Linked DNA regions of Homo sapiens: region 1 is linked to region 2. The links are contacts of gene promoters, found by promoter capture Hi-C in blood cells and fetal thymus (Javierre and others, 2016). All regions are on one chromosome and are shown on one strand. The core of a region is centred on a gene start or on the middle of the fragment in contact, and the rest is flanking DNA. Distances in the headings are between cores, read along the strand shown. Region 1 has its middle 9.1 kb from the start of SV2C. Region 2 holds the start of SV2C-AS2 (SV2C antisense RNA 2).

The links. The method cuts DNA at HindIII sites, captures the fragments that hold promoters and counts their contacts. A CHiCAGO score of 5 or more calls a contact.
Region 1: a contact is called between a fragment that was not itself captured here and the fragment with the promoter of SV2C-AS2 in region 2, in 1 of 17 cell types (M0 macrophages). The highest score is 5.2, in M0 macrophages.

The regions. Positions count from the first base shown.
Region 1 is chr5:76,070,969-76,077,519 of GRCh38, forward strand. It overlaps a transcript of SV2C not described here and the pseudogene SAP18P1. Among named protein-coding and RNA genes, the nearest start is that of SV2C, 9.1 kb to the right of the region's middle. The HindIII fragment of the contact is 2,199 bases long and covers 2,115-4,313 here.
Region 2 is chr5:76,307,295-76,313,487 of GRCh38, forward strand. It overlaps SV2C-AS2 (SV2C antisense RNA 2), which reads right to left and starts at 4,335. Exons shown (of 4, transcript XR_001742750.2): 1 at 3,890-4,335. The region is part of intron 12 of SV2C (synaptic vesicle glycoprotein 2C); the gene reads left to right. The HindIII fragment of the contact is 6,036 bases long and covers 3,160-6,193 here.

The sequences.
Region 1 (6,551 bases), core at 1,964-4,463, 240 kb before region 2:
GATATCTGAGGCAGTGAGGCAGAGGGACAAGATGGAACCCACCATACTTTTAGGGTACCCATTAGTGATGTGACTCCACCTCCCGTGGGATGAATGAGAAGGAGGTGGAAAAAGGGTAGACGCTTCTTTCCTAGGTTTTTTGAGAGAGCAGGCAAGTGCTCCACAGTCCTCAAACACAGAGCTTTTAGTAAACTATAGCTTAGACCTAATGCCAAAATGGGGCTTCCTTCTCCTTCCCTTGGAATTGACAATAACCTAGGATAAGCTTGATTTGACTTTATGTCAGTCATAAAAGTGTGATTTGCAGAGAATCTCTGGAAAGTATGTGGAGAAGACGCACCGAGCAGGAGTTATAAAAGAACCTGCAGTTCTGAGCTGCCGATGCATATAAAAGTGGGCACAAATTGCATTATGGGAGATTTAATGTTGGTATAGGATGCACTGTCATGCAGGAAATGGCTAATAGAGTACCCAGAAACCAAACTTGGGACTGGGAGTTGAGTGAAGAGATAGTTTTAAAAATATCTTTATTATCAGGGAAGAGCTGTAGTCTAAGTGTAGAGAAAGGGAAAACCAATTAGACAGACTATTAATACCGAATGTTTCCATCATTAACACTCATTGTGTTGCTGCTTCTCAAAAAGCCATTTGTGACCCAAAAGTTGGTCAGCACCAATACCTTTAGATCATGCTAAAAATAGAAGTGAACCTAACTTCCTGAGAGCTTACTACATGCATTTTTAATAGCTAGATCATGTAGGGAAATCAGCATGTCTATTATTAAAATAGAAAAGCTGAGTGTTAGAACACTAATTTGGAGCAGGAAGATTATACAAGACAAATTCTGAACATGAAGATGATAATTTTCCCTTGAGCAGGAAAATAATTTAATAGAACTCAATGCATTAATAGACCTATAGTAGAATGTTAAAAAGAAATTCTAGCAGTGAGAATGGGGAAGACCTACGGGAATATTCAGAGTTGAGCTATAAATCATCTGGATACAGAGGATCCACAACACTTGCTCCAGAGCTTAGAGCAGCAGGAGAAATCACTGAACGAAAAGGAGAGAGAAAAAATTCAAAGAGATTACCCTTGTCAGAAAAGGGGCACATGTTTGTTTGTTTTTTTAACTAAATTTTAAAAAAACTATAGATATGCAGGTTTCTCCAGATATTGTTATGCCATTACCCCTCCAAAGAAGGCACTGCAGAATTTAAAGCCATGAGTTCCTTATATAGAAAAACTCTTGATAATCCTTATTTTGGAAAACAAAGTTCAAGAAAAAATGTGAAAAATTAATTAAATGTGTGAACAATTATTCAAAATGTGTTTAGCACCTTTCATATGAAAAGCATTGTGTTGGAGAGTTTGTGGGATTTAATATTGTAGAAAATGTGATGTCCTTGCCCTCAAAAAGCTGTTGTACTACAGGAAATGAAATGGAATTATTTATAATGAAACTGGTAAGTAATGAGAGCCATATATGCAGTTGACCCTAAGAGCTAACAAGTGTGAAGCTGGGCAGGATGCTTTTCCCTAATGGCTGCAGAATTACAGTAGAGAAGGTGGTATTTGGTATCTCAGGTGGTGGGTATAGCTTGATTAACTTTACACAGGAGTAGAGAAACTTCTTTTTCTCTGGGTAGATACCCAGGAGTGGGATTGCTGGATCAAATAGTAGTTCTACTATTAGTTCTTTAAGAAATCTCCACATTTTTTCCATAGTGATTGTACTAGTTTACATTCCCACCAATGGTATAAAAGTGTTCCCTTTTCACCACATCCAGACCAACGTCTATTATTTTGATTCTGATTATGGCCATTCTTGCAGAAGTAAGGTGGTATTTCATTGTGGTTTTGATTTGCATTTCCCTGATAATTAGTGATGTTGAGCATTTATCCATATGCTTGTTGGTTATTTGTATGTCTTCTTTGGAAAATTGTCTATTCATGTCCTTAGCCCACTTTCTGTTGGAATTTTTTTCTTACTGATTTGTTTGAGTTCTTTGTAGATTCTGGATATTAGTCCTTTGTCAAATGTATAGATTGTGAAGATTGTCTCCCACTCCGTGGGCTATCAATTCTGCTGATTATTTCTTTTGCTTTGCAGAAGCTTTATAGTTTAAGTCCCATCTATTTATCTTTGTTTTTGTTGCATTTGTGCTCGGTTTCTTGGTCATGAAATCTTTGCTTAAGCCAATGTCTAGAATGGTTTTTCCAATGTTATCTTCTAGAATTTGTATGGTTTCAGGTCTTAGATTTAAGTCTTTGATCCATCTTGAGTTGATTTTTATATAAGGTGAGAGATGAAGATCCAGTTTTATTCTTCTATATATGGCTTGCCAATTATCCCAGCATCATTTTTTGAAAAGCATGTCCTTTCCCAATTTTATGTATTTGTTTGCTTTGTCGAAGATTAATTGGCTGTATGCATGTTTAGAGCATCACAATTCGCAATTGCAAAATATGGATCCAGCCCAAATGCCCATCAATCAATGAGTGAATAAAGAAAATGTGGTATGTATGTGTGTGTATATATATATATATATATATATATATATATATATATATATACACCATGGAATACTACTCAACCATAAAAAGGAATGAAATAATGTCATTCACAGCAACCTAGATGTAAATGGAGACTATTATTCTAAGTGAAGTAACTCAGGAATGGAAAACCAAACATCATATGTTGTTACTCATAAGTGGAAGGTAAGCTATGAGTATGCAAAGGCATAAGAATGATACAATGGACTTTAAGGACTCAGGCAAAAGGGTGGAAGGGCGGTGAGAGATAAAAGACTACACATTGGGTACAATGCACACTGCTCGCGTGATGGGTGCACCAACATCTCAGAAATCACCACTAAAGAACTTATTCATGTAACAAAACACCACCTGCCCCCTAAAAACCTATTGAAATAAAAAATAAATTAATTTTAAAAAAAGAAGTAGAGAAACTTGATGAGTCTGTGGGGTATGCCAATTAGCCCAGAATATCCATGTCTTCTCATCCCTCATTGGTTGAGGGTTCACAGACCTACTGTGCAAGCACTGGGGTGGCCAAGGGCAGAGATGGGTCAAACCATCCTGGCCTGTGTCATTCAGAACTTCCTCTGCAGTGAAGGCTCTGGCTCTCTGGTGGGCATTGATTTGAGACACACGAACAGGCAAAGGAGTTTGCACTTTAAATCACTGTGTAATCATGGAGTGATTTAAAGCAGGTAAATTGTGCTTCTTCTGGGAAGCTGTACTTCTTTTTGGAGTCTCCAAACCAATCCCTGGGACCCCACAATGCTGTGTGATGCGGTTCCACTCTTCTCAGCCACCATTCAGGTAATGGTAGCTCTTCTTCCTGGGACTGAGACATGAGGAACATCCCCCTTCCTTGCATCTTACCAGATGCCACATTTACTGAGGCGAGACATTTTCTGAGTGACAAAAACTACCTTATCCTAGATGTGCAGATAATATAGGAACAAACAACATAGAGAGATTCAGTTATTGGCCTATAAAGCAAACTCAGGGTACGGCCCTGAATGGCCTAGAGTTTCCTTTAGTTCATCTCTCTCCTTCTTAACAAGAATGTTTTCCAGACATCAAAATCTGCCTCTTTCAGAAAAAAGTATCTCTTGTGGGCATTTTCATCTTCCTTTCTCATCTCTACCCTACCACACACTTCTAAGTGACACACTGCCTTCCCCTTTGAGCCACCAGAGGAGGCTAGAGACCTCTTCCGAGTTTCTTTCTCTGACCCTGCCTGGGGCAGCTTCTTCCCTTTTGCTTGTTAAGATACTGAAGCCATTCTGACTTTAGGCAATTATTTGTCAAACACATTCTATGATGTAGTAACTGTGCTAGAACCTTGGAATACAACAGATGGAGACATCCATCTTGTTTTCCCAACAGAAATAAACTTGAAACACAGCTCAACTCAAATCAGTAGACATTTGTGGAGTATCTACTGTGTGCCAGGTGCTCTTTTAGGGCTGGAGAGAGTATAAGGATGCTTTCAGCTGTGAGCAAAAGTCTCTAACTTAAAGTGGCTCTAAAAAATAAAAAAGAGGAAATGTATTACTACACAACAGAGGTAGGGCTGTTCCAGACATGGCACACCAGGGTTCTGGCACCACTTCTCTGAAATTCACTTGACTCTTACATCCTTCATGTGTTATGTCATCAGGCTCCCTCCCCTCCATGATTCCAGGATATTTGCAAAGTTCTATATGTCACATTCAAGCAAATAATGTCTAAAGACACAAATGGGACTTCTTTGCTGCATTTATATTTTCGGGAGTAAGGAAAGCTTTCCCAAAAGCTGTCTAGAAATCTTCCCTGCAAATGTCATTGAGCAGAATTGTGTTACAAATCCATGCCCAAACCAATAACTGAAAGGGAGAGAGGAATTATCATGACTGATTTGGACCAATTAGAATGTAATGAGCCCATTCCCTAAAGCCCACTCCCTAAAGGTCATGTGAAAAGTGGTAGATCTCAGTTTGCTGAGGGGGTCGGAGCTCTGGGCAAGAATCTCGAGAGCTTGTCAGAAGAAGATGGCAGTGGAGTCATGCGTTGCACTGGAAGAAATTAACAAAGATCTGGAGATGCCCACCAACCAAGAGAAGACATGTCCAAGCTGTCCTGTGGTCCAGTGAGTGGCAGATCCACACTTAGATGGATGCAACCTTGAATTAACTGACTAGATTAGTAAAAGAAGTCTACCCAGAAGCTAGAAAGAAGGGCACAAACTTCAATTTTGCAGTTGTTTTATGGATCTTAAAAGACATTGCTATCAAGTAAAGGAAACTGGAAGTGTCATGTCTGGTAGAAAAGGGGTGAATGATGAATAACCCTAAAGTGGCAGCAGTTCCAAATAGATTATTTGCACATAGCAATTACTCCTCCAAACCAGGCACCACTTCTCTCAGGGCACATGAGACCATATTAAATTTTATTTACTATTTTTTGCATTTATTTTCCAATTAGTTATGTAAAATTCCTTATATAGTCTTTTTCATCTTATTTCCATTGAGCCTTTAAACTCTAAACACACTGTAATGCATCTATGTAGGAGTTATATTTGGTTGTGCTATGGAATGAGCATTAATAGAAGGTCCATATTGTTTCAAGCCCTGCTGTAAAATATGAAAAGTGCTCTTAGCATTCTGTATAAAACTGTATTGTTAAATATATGTGTGTAGTTTTTGAAAAGGTAAATCCCTAAATAAAATCAGGATTCTCTGAGGTAAGCATAAAGTATCATATGTGTATGGAAGCTGGACTGGATGTTGGTAGGGCAACCAGCAGAGTTGGATAGAAGATTGATCTGGTGCCTTTTTAAATATGATTGGTTATTCCTTATAGTTTCCTATTGCCTGCACATATTTTTCTTCAAGTACAGTGAAAATTATGACCAATAGTTCTAACTATTGAAGTTTAACTAAAGAAGTCTTTCTTCAGGAAAAGATTGAAGTTTCTTTTGTTATATCTGCTGGTGCTACTTCATGTTATCATGCTTCCTTGTGTGTTGTTATTTTATGTGCTTCATTATTTTCTAACTTTCATTTATTTATGTGATTTTTTTTTGAAGTCCAGGATGAGGGAGGGCTCCTCCACATAGGATTTGCATTTCTTTCTATCAGGGATCTGGGAAATTACCAACCCAATATTAAACTGAATTCATAGTTTGTTGAGAATTTGGTGCTAGAGAGCTCTATGACTTGTATTCAGTTGAAATTTCTCAGGTAAGCATATTCTACCTCTACTGCATAGCCACATTCTCTTGCTTTACTAAGCATCAAGGCAACATTTTCAGCAGTCCCCTATATTGGTAGAGGTAGGGAGCATTGATCTCTGGTTTCCCTTACACTGAAAGTGTAAACCTTCAGGTTGCTTGTAATGGAGGGTGGGCTGTGCCTCACTATTAGATTCAATAACTTGGGCAGGTCCTAGGTTTTGTCTTGTATCCCCCTCACGTTAAAAAGGCAACGAAAACCTACCCCATCATATTACTATCAAACATCTCGTAAAAGGATAGGAGGATGGCTGTTTAAGAAGTATTCATTAGAATTTTACCATTTAGCAAAACCCAAATGAAATAGTGGATAAGTAGCAATAATCATCAACAACTGCTAACATCACAAAAGTGACAATTAGTATATGCCTCCTAATTAAACGACACATATGTAGTAGTTTCATTTAAAAAAAAACAAAACCTGCCTCTGATAAGCCTCTCGATCTATTTTCTGGATTGCAGGAAATACAGGGAGCAGCAGAGCATGTTAAATAGCATAACGGGAACGAAATCAGTAAAATCCAGACTGTGGAGAGCTCTACAGGACATATGGTTTCTTCATCCATAGTAAATTCTGAAGGGAAAAGAAAGGAAGGATGAACCAATAGATAAATAGAGATTTAAGAGACATATCAACCAATTGCAATGTATGGTAGACCTTATTTGGATCTTGATTCAAACAAACTAATTTTTAAAAACATAAAATAAGAGGGCGAGTAGGAAGGTAGGAGACAGGGGTGTCTATGGA
Region 2 (6,193 bases), core at 3,085-5,584:
GCAGAGAAAGTTGGCTTCATAGGCAGAAAAGCTCTAAAGAGAGCAGATACAGAGAACAAAAAGCAGATAGCCCTTTCAAAGTCCCTTTCTGTAAAGGGCTAAAACAGAGGGGACTTCCTTATTATGCTCATTTGGGTTGGCCGGAATCACCTGTTTTTTGGAAAACTGGCTCTTTTCAAAGTTCAATTTGATTAGGTGGCACTTAGCCTGAGTGACTCCATTCTGCTTAGGACTGGTCTGCTGTGGCCTAGGTGCAGGAGACTAGCCCAAAACAATGGCCTCCCGTAAAATTTAACTATTTGAATACTTTTTCAGTGCTGCCCTTTTTCTCTTCTGCCTGAACTCCAGCAACATAAATATTAGATCTTTTGTTATAGTTCCGCAGGTCCCTGATTTAGTTTGTTTTCTCTGTTCTTCACTTTAGATAGTTTCCATTGTTCTGTCTTCCAGTTCACTGGTTCTTTCCTCTGTCTCCTCCATTCTGCTGTTGAGCCCAACCACTAAGCTTTTTATTTTGGTTATCATATTTTTCAGTTCTAAAATTTTCATTTAGTTCTTCTTTATTTCTTCTACTTCTTTGCTAGGGCTTTCTATTTTTTCCATTTTTGCCGTGATGCTTTCTAAATTTCATGTGTTTCAAGTGTGTTCATAGTTGCTCATTGAAGCCTTATTATGGCTGCTTTAAAATATTCATCAGATAATTCTAACATCTCTGTCATATCAGTGTTGCCATCTATTGATTGTCTTTTTTCATTCTGTTTGAAATCTTCCTGTTTATTTGTATGACAAACAGTTTCTGATTGGAAGCAGTCATTTACATATTATGTTATGAGAATTTGGATCTTATTTAAGCCTTTTGCTTGAATTGGCTTTCTGTGACTCCTCTCTGGCAAGCGAAAGGGAGGCATTGCCTTATTATTACCAGGTGGACGTAGAAGTCCAGGTACTCCACTTAAGCTCCAGTGACACCCAAGAGTGGGCATTCTCATTACTGCTGGGAGTCCACACTCCCTTCCTGATCATGGATACCATGGGAGGGAGGGAAGGAGGAGCTCATTACCACCCAGCAGGGATGAAAGTCCCAGCTCCTTACTTACCCTTCTCTGATGGCATCCCAATGGTAGTGTTGACAGGTCTTCTTAGTTTCACAAGGGTGGAAGTCTAGGCTACCACCAGACCTTTGCTGATGTAGCTGGCAGTTGAGCTACAATTTTTTCCTGGTGTTTGGTCTGAGGAGAGAGGTTATTATCTAAAAGTTTTCTATCTTGCTAGACTGCCGTTTTCCTGGTCCTTGGGCTAGAGAGAGCAGGCTTTGGTTGTGGCTTTTCTTTTTCTGTGCCTATTGGCATTTCTGGGTTGGCAACTTGTTCGATTCCAAGTCTGAGATCTATGGAGCAGAAGGCAAACGCAGGGAACTCCCCATCCCCAAGCTCCCTAGCAGTTCTGCCTTTTTCCTCTTTCAGTCTTGTTCTGTTTGTTTTATATATAATGTGCAGGATATTTTGTTGTACTTATCAAGAAGAATAAGAAAAGTATATCTATTCCATCTCGGTGTGAATTTTAATACTGTTTGTTTATTTACTCAACAACTATTTTTTTGAGCACCTATGATACAACCGTGAGTAAATCAGTTGTGGTCTTTATTCTCATAAGCACAAGCAAACTTCAGTTGTAATATAGTGGTCAGGGTTATTACATGGGAAGTGCATGATGCTCAGAGCATCAGAGAGGTTTTCTTGAAAGAAGTTCCATTTAATTGAGATCTAGTAGGTGATAACCAGTCAAAAAGATGGAAAGAACATTTCAGTTAGAGCAAATACCAGCTAACAAGCTCTGGAAGTAAAAGAGTTACTCAAAGAACAAGTCATGAAGACTCTTTCACATTGCCTTATTGTGTGGGGACGGGGAGACTTTGAGCTGTCTTACAGAGAATGACAAGATCATTCTTGGCCTTTAGAGAGCTCCCTCTAATGGCCAGAAAGAAGGCAGGGAGGCTGGTTAAGACACTTAAGTTGTAGGTTGGAGGCCGGGCACGGTGGCTCACGTCTGTAATCCCAGCACTTTGGGAGGCCAAGGCAGGCGGATTACGAGGTCAGGAGATCGAGACCATCCTGGCTAACAAGGTGAAACCCCGTCTCTACTAAAAATACAAAAAATTAGCCAGGCATCGTGGCTGGCGCCTGTAGTCCCAGCCACTCGGGAGGCTGAGGCAGGAGAATGGCGTGAACCCGGGAGGCGGAGCTTGCAGTGAGCCGAGATCGCACCACTGTGCTCCAGCCTGGGCGACAGAGCGAAACTCCATCTCAAAAAAAAAAAAAAAAAAAAAAAAAACAGAAAGAAAGAAAGAAAAATGTAGGTTGGAAAGGGGAAAAGTCAACACTCAACATGTTCACAGATATTTAGGGATACATTCAACAAAGCTTGGTGCTTGATTAGATGTTAGGGGGAAGAAAAGAGGTTGTCAAAGAAAGATGATTCCAGTTTCTGCGTGTACAGTTGAGTGAATGGAGATGGCAGGTTTTGTTTATGTTTTTTAATTTTAAAAACCACCTGCAGGAGCACAATGGCATTTTGAGGCTGGGACACAGGAGGGACAGTGGGTCTGGGCTGTGGTCAAGAAGGTAATAAGTTCCATTTTGGACATGTTGAGTTTTTACATCAACCTGGGGCTGTCCGATTGGCATTTGAATATTTTTGTTTGGATGCCAGAAAGATACCTGAGCTGGGGATAGAGAGGTCATTCACTATTTCATTCAAAAAAAAAAAATGATTATGGAATGCATATCCTGTGCCAGGAACTATTTTAGTCATTGGGAGACAGCAGTGAACAAAACAGACAGAAAGCTTTGCCTTGATAGAGCTTATATTCTATAATAGTTTGAGGAAGACAGTCCAACAAACAGATAAGTAAAGTAGATGTAGTATATTGGATGGTGCTAAGTGCTGTAGAGAAAAATAAAGCTACGTGGAGCATAGAGAATGCTGGGGTAAGGAGAGTTACAACTGTAAATAGAATGGTCTAGGGGGATGTGACTGTAAAGCTGACATTTGAGCAAAGACCCAGGCAGACATCTGGAGAGAGTGTATTCACAGCAGAGGCAACAGCAGGTGCAAAGGTCCTGAGGTGGGAGTGTGAGAGACCAGTTGGAAGAGAGGCAAAGCTTGTCTGGCTGGAGCAGAATGACCAAGGTAGAGGGTAAGAAGCCATGGGGTCAGAGTGGACAATAAAAGGGCTTTGGTCTTCTTGCTGAGTAAAATGAAATCCAATGTGGGGTTTGGGGGCAGATGAGTGACATGAACTGACTTATGAAGTCCACAGCAAGAAATGTGGCAAGAGGTAATGGTGCCAATGGAGGTGGTGAGAAAGTGGTTAGATTCTGAAAATATGTCTAAGAGAGAGACCTGGAATAGTTCAAGTCAAAGGAAACAGAAAACAAAGGCCTCCATAGAAATAACATGTCTGAGAGGCAAGAGTTGGAGTCTGGGGGTAAATCCATCAACGTAAGAAAATCCAGAGGTAACACAGATCTGGACTAAGAAATAACAGACACCAGAGTTAGGATACCAGGCCAGGAGACAAGAGTTCAGTGAGCTAGAAACTCAGGCTGGCAGAGTGGAATACAAAAAAACTAGCCTGGAAGCAAGTGGTCAAAGTATTAAGATGTCTTGATCTTCAAAAATGGTGTATGACATTGAGAGAAGGCTTTGCAAGTTAGACTTCCCTATAACCTCTGTGCTTAGGTCAGTAGGGCAGTAGTAGTTTGCAGCTGGTTCTCAATGACATTCATTGGACTGACTTGCCCAGGGCTAGAACTCACCTCAGGTAGAGGCAAGATATCAGAACTGTCTGCAGTGGAAGTTGAAGGCACCTCTCTGCTCATGCACTCACCTTGGTCAGTCACCTCTATCTTGATCCTAAACCTTCTTCCCAACTCTGTAGTAATAGCCTGAGATTCTTGCCAAGGCCAGCTTCCCAGTGCTGTGGTACGTCTGCCACAATGATTGAGATGCAGTGGTCGATGCAGTGCCCTTCTCCCCAAGGCTCTTAATTCTTAGGCGTAGACTTGAAGAAGCCAGGAATACTTGTACTTCTGCAGGGATGAGTGAGGTGAAGCGGGAAGACGGAAAAGCAAATGTTGCATTCAGGAATTTGTCCTTGATTGTGAGGCTGGAAAGACAAGATTGCTTTGAGAAGCATTATGAGGAAAGAAATGAAGAGCAGGGCAAAATGATAGACCTTTGAAGTTTGAGCCATTATTGAATATACAAGTCATTGTATAGTCTTTTAACAGTTTCTACATCAGCCCCTCACCTGTGTCAAAGATAAGCAGAGAGCCTATTATATGTAATGTAGATCACAAACAATTGATGTGGCATGAGATTCTTCTAATAGACATGAAATATGAATGTGACATGAGCCAGACATAGAATGGATTTTCCAGCTTGCCGTAAATCTGAAAGGAGCCCCAACCATCTAACATACTGGTGTGGGGGAGCTTCCTTTTCCCTCATTTCTCCGTCCCCAGTCCCTGCCACCAGCAAAATTACTTTCAACCCTCTTTGCGGTAGAACTGAGAACACCAACAGAAGATGCATTTCATTTTTTGGGTTTAGTCTGTGCTGGTCAGCTTCCCTCAATACCCTAACTGGGAAAAATAAGTCAATTTTCCCTCATCTCTTGAAGTCTTCAAAATGAAAGTATATGTAATGACAGGTTGAAATGGATTTTTTCCATCCATCAGGGTCCCTACTTTTCTCTCCCTGCTTTGTGAAAGTTGTAAATCTCTCAAAAGTCATAAATGTAGCTCCCGCGGTGTAGGCCTGTTCCAGCTCATTCCAGTTCTAGGTTTTGGCCTTTATGTTTCTCTGCGTCCAGGTGTTAACTTTCTGCTGCCACTATGTGGCTGTGGCCAAGTCCCCTGCTCACATTTCCTGTGTGCTTATGGCTCAGGGGCCACTTTTTTTTTTTGGGGGGGGGGACAGGGTCTCACTCTGTCACCCAGGCTGGAGTGCAGTGACGCAATCTCCACTCACTGCAATCTCTGCTTCCCAGATTCAAGCAATTCTCCTGCCTCGGCCTCCTGAGTAACTGGGATTATAGGTGCCTTCCACCACTCCCAGCTAATTTTTGTATTTTTAATAGAGACGGGGTTTCACCGTGTTGGCCAGGCTGGTCTCGAACTCCTGACCTCAAGTGATCTGCCTGCCTCGGCCTCCCAACGTGCTGGGATTACAGACATGAGCCAGCGTGCCCAGCCATTAGGGGCCATCTTTACCCCTCCTCCGTGGCGCTCGGGGCCAGGAGCGCACACCTTGTGAGATGCAGCCCACGCTCTCAGGGCCGTCCTGCAACTCTGCACAGACTCCCAGGGCCAGGCAAGCCTGTCTCATGGTGTCGTTTGGCCGCATGTTCCTGCCTTTCTCTGCCTACCTTCTTCCCTTTTCTTTCCCCCTTATGCCCCCTTATGCATGCACAGTTTCAGACATGAGGTCAGAAAGGATTTGAGGATCTGATTGTTCACACCTGCCGATCCCTGAGAGTCCTGGGCAGCTGCTGCCATCACCCAGTGCAGTGGGATTGGTCTCTTCCTTGATGAGCTAAAATCAAAACATTTTCCCAGAATTAAGCAACCCAAGCCCTTCCCTTAGGACTGTCCTTGTTTTGACAGAGTTCTCTTGTTTCCTCCCCATTCTTCAGTTCCGAAGGTCTGTCATCTTGGATCTCTTACTGACCAGCTGTGCGACCTCAGGGACACCACTCAGCCTAGCTGGGCCTGGATTGTTTGAGATTTAAATGAGGAGTATGAAATAAATAGCATCTCAGGGCCTTTCTAGCTCTAGAATTCTCTTCACTGTCGTCATCTGGTATTCTGTAATGGCAATTTCATTCATTCTTTCTTGAATACATTCTACGTCTAATATAAAGATAAATATCTCACTTATTTGTGAAGATTTTGGTACAGAGGAATCTTTCAGCTATCGCGACTAACCAACCTATGTAATCCACTCCATCCCTGGCCCTCTGCTCTGCTTGATTTTTCCTTATACGCCTTATCATTATATTATATATGTTTATGCTTTGGCTATCCAGCAAAAGTCAGATTCATTTTGTCTCTGGTAGTTAGAAGTAGAGGGTGAAGGGGGTGGGGAATATATGCTTCCTGCTCCCACAACCTTGCCATCAGGCAATATA